Linked DNA regions of Homo sapiens: region 2 is linked to region 1. Evidence: promoter capture Hi-C in 16 types of primary human blood cells and fetal thymus (Javierre and others, 2016). All regions are on one chromosome and are shown on one strand. Each heading gives the region's core, a stretch centred on a gene start or on the middle of the fragment in contact. The rest is flanking DNA. Distances are from core to core; before and after follow the strand shown. Region 1 holds the start of TXNRD1 (thioredoxin reductase 1). Region 2 has its middle 56 kb from the start of EID3.

Evidence for each region. The method cuts DNA at HindIII sites, captures the fragments that hold promoters and counts their contacts. A CHiCAGO score of 5 or more calls a contact.
Region 2: a fragment that was not itself captured here is called in contact with the fragment with the promoter of TXNRD1 in region 1 in 17 of 17 cell types (naive CD8 T cells, naive CD4 T cells, activated CD4 T cells and 14 more); the score reaches 14.9 in naive CD8 T cells.

Annotation. Positions count from the first base shown.
Region 1 is chr12:104,214,526-104,218,301 of GRCh38, reverse strand. It overlaps TXNRD1 (thioredoxin reductase 1), which reads right to left and starts at 2,523. Exons shown (of 17, transcript NM_001093771.3): 1 at 2,409-2,523. The coding sequence starts at 2,499. RefSeq lists enhancers at 1,515-2,130, 2,131-2,747 and a silencer at 2,571-2,660. The HindIII fragment of the contact is 5,942 bases long and covers 1-3,776 here.
Region 2 is chr12:104,357,428-104,361,299 of GRCh38, reverse strand. No RefSeq gene overlaps it. Among named protein-coding and RNA genes, the nearest start is that of EID3, 56 kb to the right of the region's middle. RefSeq lists an enhancer at 3,575-3,869. The HindIII fragment of the contact is 3,521 bases long and covers 678-3,872 here.

The sequences.
Region 1 (3,776 bases), core at 1,274-3,773:
CTGTAATCCCAGCACTTTGGGAGGCTGAGGCGGGAAGATCACGAGGTCAAGAGTTCAAGACCAGCCTGGCCAACATGGTGAAACCCCGTCACTACTAAAAATACAAAGATTAGCTGGGCATGGTGGCGGGCCTGTAATCCCAGCTATTTGGGAGACTGAGGGAGGAGAATTGCTTGAACCCAGGAGGCGGAGATTGTGGTGAGCCAAGATCATGCCACGGCACTCCAGCCTGGCGATAGAGCAAGACTCCATCTCGGGAAAAAAAAAATGTGGTGTGTGTGTGTATATATATTCCATTTTGTGTGTGTGTGTGTGTATATATGTGTGTGTGTATGTACATATACACACACACAATGGAATATTATTCAGCCTTAAAAAGTAAGGAAATCCTGTCGCATGCTACAATACAGATGAAACTCGAAGACAAGTATGCTAAGTGAAACAAGCCAGTCACAAAAAGACAGACACTGTATGATACCAACTTATATAAGCAATCTAAAGTAGCCAAATTTCACAGAAACAGAAAGTAGAATGATGGATACCAGGGGCTGGGGGAAACGGCAAATGAAAAGTTAACGAGTTGGCATGGAGTTTCAGATTTGCAAGATGAAAAAGTTCAGGGGATCTGCTTCACAACAATGTGAATATACTTAATACTGCTGAAAACTGTATACTTAAAAACGGTTAGGGTCAGCTGGGTGCAGTGGCTCATGCCTGTAATCCCAGCACTTTGGGGAGCTGAGGTGGGCAGATCACCTGAGGTCAGGAGTTCAAGACCAGCCTGACCAACATGGTGAAAACCTGTCTCTATTAAAAATACAAAATTAGCCAGGCGTGGTGGTGCATGCCTGTAATCCCAGCTACTTGGGAGGCTGAGGCAGGAGAATCGCTTCAACCTGGGAGGTGGAGGCTGAGGTGAGCCAAGATGGCGCCATTGCACCCCAGCCTGGGCAACGAGAGCGAAACTAAAAAAAAAAAAAAAACAAAATTGTTAAGATGGTAAATTTTTTTTTTTTAACCACACACAAAAAGAATGTAGCTAAAGAAAAACAGTAAATAAATGGAAGGACATAGATATCAAGAAGATCCTGAGGATGGCACATGAAACGTCAATTTGGGATGCACCTGCTCAAACTCCTTCATTGTACTAATGGCCACAAATTAGCTGCCTGACCTGGACCTTGCCTGACCTTGCTCCTACCCTGTTCCTTTATTCTTCCCTTCCCCTAATCCAAGTCCTTAACTCCAGCAGGATATACAGGCCTCCCTATCTCTAGCATGGTCTCACCGGCTGCTTCCCCTAACAAGAATGTTCTCCCTTCAGACACCTCTACCAAATCCTACCTCATCTATGGGAGCTGCCATCCCCACTTGGCTGTTTTTACCACTCCTTTTAGCCCTTCACCATATGCTGCCTTGTAACTAAACTGTAAGCCTTTGAAAGAGGCAGATCCTACAGCATTTAATAATTCTAGCCATTGGGCAAGGCACTTTTTGGAGCCTCACTTTCTCAAGCCTATAAAAAAGGTGGAGGCGGCCATATGACTATGACCAGGGCTTTTGAGTCAGATGGCCTCAACTGGTATCCCAGCTCTTCCACTTACTAGTTGTGTGCTTTGGGTAAGTTTTATAACCTCTTTGCTTCTCAGTTTCTTCATCTGTATAATGGGGTTTATGATAAATCTCTCAGTATGGCTGGAAACATGAACCAAGATTATTACCCATGTCTAGTGCTTCCAAAGGCCCCTCTCATGTCAGTGCTTAGTAACCACTAGCCATTATTGGCATTATCCGGACAATGGAGAAGAGACTGGGAGCTTTCTCTTCTGGAAGAACAAGTGAAAGGATAAAGCGGGATGATGGTGGGAGAAATGTGCCCAAAATTCAAGGGGATGGAGAAAGGGGGCCGGGAAGGCGTGTCGGACAAGATTCTCGATGGAGGAGGATGCTGGGAGTGGGCCGGGGGCTTCTGGAGAGGTGAAGGGGCACCCCCGGACTCGGCTGTCGGTTTGGTCGCTTCCCCCGTAACCTTTCATTGGAAACACGGTGCTTGTAGGAAGAGGACGCCCTAACGGGCCCTGAGCGAAATCAGGCGGGTCGCTGCCGAGATCTCGGTTCGGTTTCCGACAGGTTTCCGGGCAGGTCCTCGCGGCGGGCCCGCTCCTCCTTCCACCTCCCACCTCTCTCACAGCCAGCGGGCGGGGCAGCCCTCGGCCGGCCGCCGGCCTCCGTCTCCCGGGGTGACCTGGGGGAGCGTTTCTGGGGTCTCCAGCGTGGCGCGCGGTCAGTCACTGACTCCAGTGAGGGGCTTCAAGGCCAGGGCTCCGGGGCACTTTATCCCCAACCCCGGCCGGAAGGCCCGCTTCGGCCCGTCGACCTGGGGACCAGGCCTTCGCCCTCGGTCGTACCTGACCTACGGCGGCCATCGCCGTTCTTGCCTTTCGTCTGCAGCTCCGTTGGGGCGGCCGCCGCCACTGCCTTGCCCTCGGCGCAGCCCATGTCGCACAAGGCCCTGTGGGAACTGACGGAGCCGAAGGACGCCTGGCGGAGGCCGCGAGCCCCCTGCCGGCCGCGGGTCGGAGAACGCGGTGGGCGGGGCGCTCGGTGACAACAGCGAAGTCATAGCCCGTGTATCTTCTTCAAGGTCGTGAATTTTTTTTTTTTAACAGGAAAGAACGGTCGCTAAAGGTAAATTGGAAAATGCAGAAATGGAAAGGAGAAAAGAGCGCACCACCCAAAATCCTTATCCTTCGGCTGGGCGCGGTGGCTTACACCTGTGCACTTTGGGAGGCCGAGGTGGGAGGATTGATCGCTTGAGCCCAGGAGTTTGAGACCATCCTGGGCAATGTAGAGAAACCCTGTTTCTACAAAAAATAATTTTAAAAAATTTATCCTTCACACAAACTACTTTTGCTGTGTTTACTATTTCTTTCCAGTTTTTCCCCTCTATGCATAGTTTTGCATCCAGCATTTCACTTAATACTAGTATTTTCCATACTATCACATAGTCTTGTAAGCCTCCCAGATAACCACCTGGCTTCCACTGTCACTTCAGTCTTTGCCTCTTTGACCGTAGATGAAGCATACACTGAACATCGTAGTTTCTTTTTAATACACTTTATTTTTTAGAGCAGTCTTTTTTTTTTTTTTTTTTTGAGACGGAGTCTCACTCTGTCACCCAGGCTGGAGTGCAGTGGCGCGATCTCAGCCCACTGCAACCTCTGCCTCCCAAGTTCAAGCGATTCTCCTGCCTCAGCCTCCCGAGTAGCTGGGACTACAGGCGTGTGCCACCATGCCCAGCTAATTTTTTGTATTTTTAGTAGAGACGGGGTTTCACCGTGTTAGGCAGGATGGTCTCGATCTCCTGACCTTGTGATCCGCCCGCCTCGGCCTCCCAAAGTGCTGGGATTACAGGCGTCAGCCACTGCGCCTGGCCTTAGAGCAGTCTTAAGTTCACAGCAAAAAGACCATCCTATTTGAACAGAAATCTGATCACGCCCCCCTCAACTCTACCCCCACCCTTTACTTTACTCTATTTTATTTTTACCAGCACTGAGAGCCTTCTAACTTACCCTATATTCTCTGTCACCTGCTCCCACTCCCTCCGCCAGCCTCCCCACGACACCCTGCCCATGTAAACGCTGCCAAAATAGAACCTTTGCATTTTTTTCTTGTATCTTGGCCTTCAGCTTGGGCCAGGTGGCCTCCCCCACCTCTTGAAGGAAAGCAGGGAAGAAGCGGGAAAATATTAATTTGAATAATTATAATAATGTAAT
Region 2 (3,872 bases), core at 1,189-3,688, 140 kb before region 1:
ATGCAACTGCCACAAATAGTCACTGTATATACCACTGATCGTCACTTACATAATAACAGGTTTGATTTTCCTAAAGCCACTGGATTCCTGCTCATTCATTGGTTGGAAGGATCATGTGACTCTCCTACCCAGTTGAACTTTGGAGAAACCTACCCGAGCATCTGGCAGAGAGATGTTCACTGGGAGATAAAAGCTCCAAGTTCCAGGCACTACCTTCAAATAAATGTGTGCCTTGCTTCTCAGCAAGCCTTGAGAAGGCTGAGGCCACACCACAGAAAAAATGTGAGTCTTATACATTTGGTAGACACCTATGTAGTTTTTAAAATAGACTTTCTTTTTTAGAGAAGTTTTAAGACCACAGCAATACTGAGCAGAAGGTACGGAGACTTCTATATACTCCCTGCCCACATACATGCACAGCCTCCCCCACTATCAACTTCACCTATCAAAGTGGTCTATTTGTTACAATTGACAAACCTACACTGATACATCACTATCACCCAAAGTCCAGAGTTTACATTAGGGGCCACTCCTGGTGCTGCACATTCTATGCGTTTGCGCAAATGTGTAATGACATGGATCCCCCATTGGAGTATCACACAGAGTAGTTTCGCTGCCCTAAAAAAATCTAGTTTTTATATACCAATTTTTTTCCACTGAGGTATACACTATAAGCTTTTTTCTCATATCATTAACTACTTTCTGAAAAACAAGATTTAAATGGCTATATTAGTTGGAGTACAGACTAAGCAGCTATGTCAGAGACCCAAAATTCAGTGTCTTCAAAGAGTAGTCTACGTAAGACGTTTGTTCTTTCCCACCCAGCAGATGGAGGTGGGGGTGGAGGATGCTACAGGGTGTGGGTCATCAGGGCCCTGGTTCCTTCCAACTTGTTGCTCAGCATCTGCTTGCTTCTTGACTCATCTGCTTGCTCATGGCTGGCCTCCAGCCCTCCAGTGGGTGTCAGGTCATTCACAGATGCAGGGGAAAGAGAAAGTGGAGAGCAAGTGTTTTTCTTACACGGAACATAACACTTTCACATCCATTCTATCCCAGAGCTTAACCACAGAGCAACTTAGTATCATGGAGGCTGGGAAATTCAGTACATAGCTAGGTGCCCAAGCACATTGCTAAAATCTATGTATGTGTAGAGGTTGGGGGGGGGGCGGGGGGAGGTTGTACTACCAAAAAGACAAAGGGAAGAAGGACAGAAGAACAATTAGATCTTTCCAATCATTTGGATAAACTGTCTCCCACAGTTGGATATTTCAATTATTTTTCATTTTTCACTAATATAAGCACTGTGAACACCCTTATACACCTAGCACCCCCTTTGTGCCAGCCACACTATTCTAAGCACTTCATGTGTGTGTTAACTTGATCCTCACAGCAACTCTGGGAGGTGAGCACAATTATTATCTCTATTTTATGCTAAGAAAACAGAGGTACTGGGGGCTAAGTTACCCTGCTGCAGGGGCTGGGCTTGTAACCACTGCTTGTAGGAAAGCCTGCCTGGGTCAGTGCTCTTTCTCTTCAACACCTCTTTATTTCCATTCACTTCCTATTTCCCTCTCCATAGACGGCCCCTCTCATGCGGTGCATGTGTGCTATTCTGCTCGTAAAACATGTACCATGGTTTCATGGGCATACATTTTTAGTACACAGAAGCGGTTATAGGGGGCTCGGTCTCTTTTTCTTTCCACTCGCCTCTACCCATGTCATGAGTACTCCCCAAGTACCGCTCCATCATCTTGCATCTGCCGCAGCCTACTCATCTATTCCCCAGTGAGGGTCATCAGGATGGAGTTCAATTTCCCCACACTGCACACGGTGCCATAACGGGTGTCTTCGTGCACGTTACCTTGGGGATACACAGAATTTCTCTGGGGTTGAGAGCCAAGAGCCGTATTGCTGGGTCATGGGCTACACAGTGCTTGAGGTCTAAACACTGAGCAGCAAACAGTCTCCTCTCCAACCAGCAGGGCCTGACGGTCCCCTCGCCTAGCTCATCATTTGGCATTAACCAGCTTTCTGATGTGTGCAAATCTGATGGCTGTAAAGCAATCTCTCATTATTTTAATTTGCCTTTCTTAATGACTCGCAAGTTTGTACAGCTCTCCTATCCTGGTTGACTTTTGGGTTTTATCTTTGGTGAATAAGCAGTTCAATGTCCTTTGCCCATTTTCTTTTGTGGTTCCTGTCTTCTTGTTGATTCGCCAGAGTTCCTTGAAGTCACCTGGGTCTAAATTCCTTATCAGTTTCAGACACAGAACAGTCCCTTCCCACATGGTCATCTCTCTATTAAACTTTTTCCATGATGGTCTTCGTGAATCAGAACTTCTGGGGCAACTGGCACATCAGTGCTTTGCCTTTTGGTTTGTGCTTGAGACCATGGTTTAAGAAACCCTCACCCACCTCTAGGTCACAGAGGTATTTTCCTATATGTACCATATAAATTTTACGGCTGTACCACATACATTTAGGTCTTCAATATGTTTCAAGTCTGTCTTTGTCATCCAGTGTTAGGTAGGGATCCAGTTTTATAGCTACACACATAGCAAACAAGTTTTCCCAGAATTATCTGCTAAACTGTTTGCCCATCCCCCTTGATTTGCAAGCCCTATAAAATTTTTTAGCTATGTGACCTTATTCACTCAAGCCCATAAACAAAGTGTGTTCCAGTAAAACTGAACACCAAAGTGGAAGCCTGCTGTTCACAGGGATGGACACTAGGAGGCACACCTTCTCTTTTGCTTTGGAGTCACCCCATGCCACAGAAGCCACACAGTGTGAGCCTGGGCAAGTGACTGACTCTGAACTTCCCTTTTTTCATCTAAAAAGTGGGTGTAGGGCCGGGCGCAGTGGCTCATGCCTATAATCCCAGCACTTTGGGAGGCTGAGGCGGGTGGATCACTTGAGGTCAGGAGTTCAAGACCAGCCTGACAAACATGGTGAAACTCCATCTCTACTAAAAATACAGAATTAGCCGGGCATGGTGGCACACGCCTGTGATCCCAGCTACTTGGGAGGCTGAGGCAGGAGAATTGTTTGAACCCAGGAGGCGGAGGTTGCAGTGAGCCGAGATTGTGCCATTGCTCTCCAGCCTGGGCAACAAGAGTGAAACTCCATCTCAAAAAAAAAAAAAAAAAAAAAAAAAGAAAGAAAAAAGAAAAGTGAGTGTAACACTAGTTCTAAAGTTCTTATAAGATTAGTGGAGTCACTGCGTGGAGGGCGTTTTGGATGTGCAGTTCTTTCTCTGCCTGCAGCTCTCCTCAGTATAACGCCTCTTCTCTTTTCATTTCTTCTCTGGGCCATTTTAAGGCCTTTATTCCTCTACGCACTTGTACTTCCAGAGCCCACATCATTCCAGATATAATGAAATGCATCACTTTCCCACTTTCAATGTACTTCATTTACAGACATACAGGAATCAGATCTAATTGCATTTGATTGGCATAAGGCAAGTATGTAGGCATTTAAAGATTTGTCCATTGTAATTTTCTTCTGTTGAGTTATTTTCCTTCATATTCTGGAGCATTTTCAAAATGGTTTCAAAGGCTTTTGTAAACACTGGGCCTTTTGCTCATGGCACTTAGTGGGGATGAAACAGCCTCGCCTTCTCTACCTTAGCAACACTAACAGATCTTGTGGATGTCATTCTTTTTTGTGTGTGGATATTGACTCAGAGTCCTCCACTCTCCTCCCTCCTGAGCCCCAGACCCACCTTCCTGTCTTCTCATTGGTGGACCCCACTGAGTGCCTGGCCAGGACTTCCAATTGAGAATGAGTAGTGGCCATGAGGATTAAATGTTGCTATGTGCATAGCACTTACAACATAACCCTAATATGCAGGAAGTAAGCATATGAGGAAA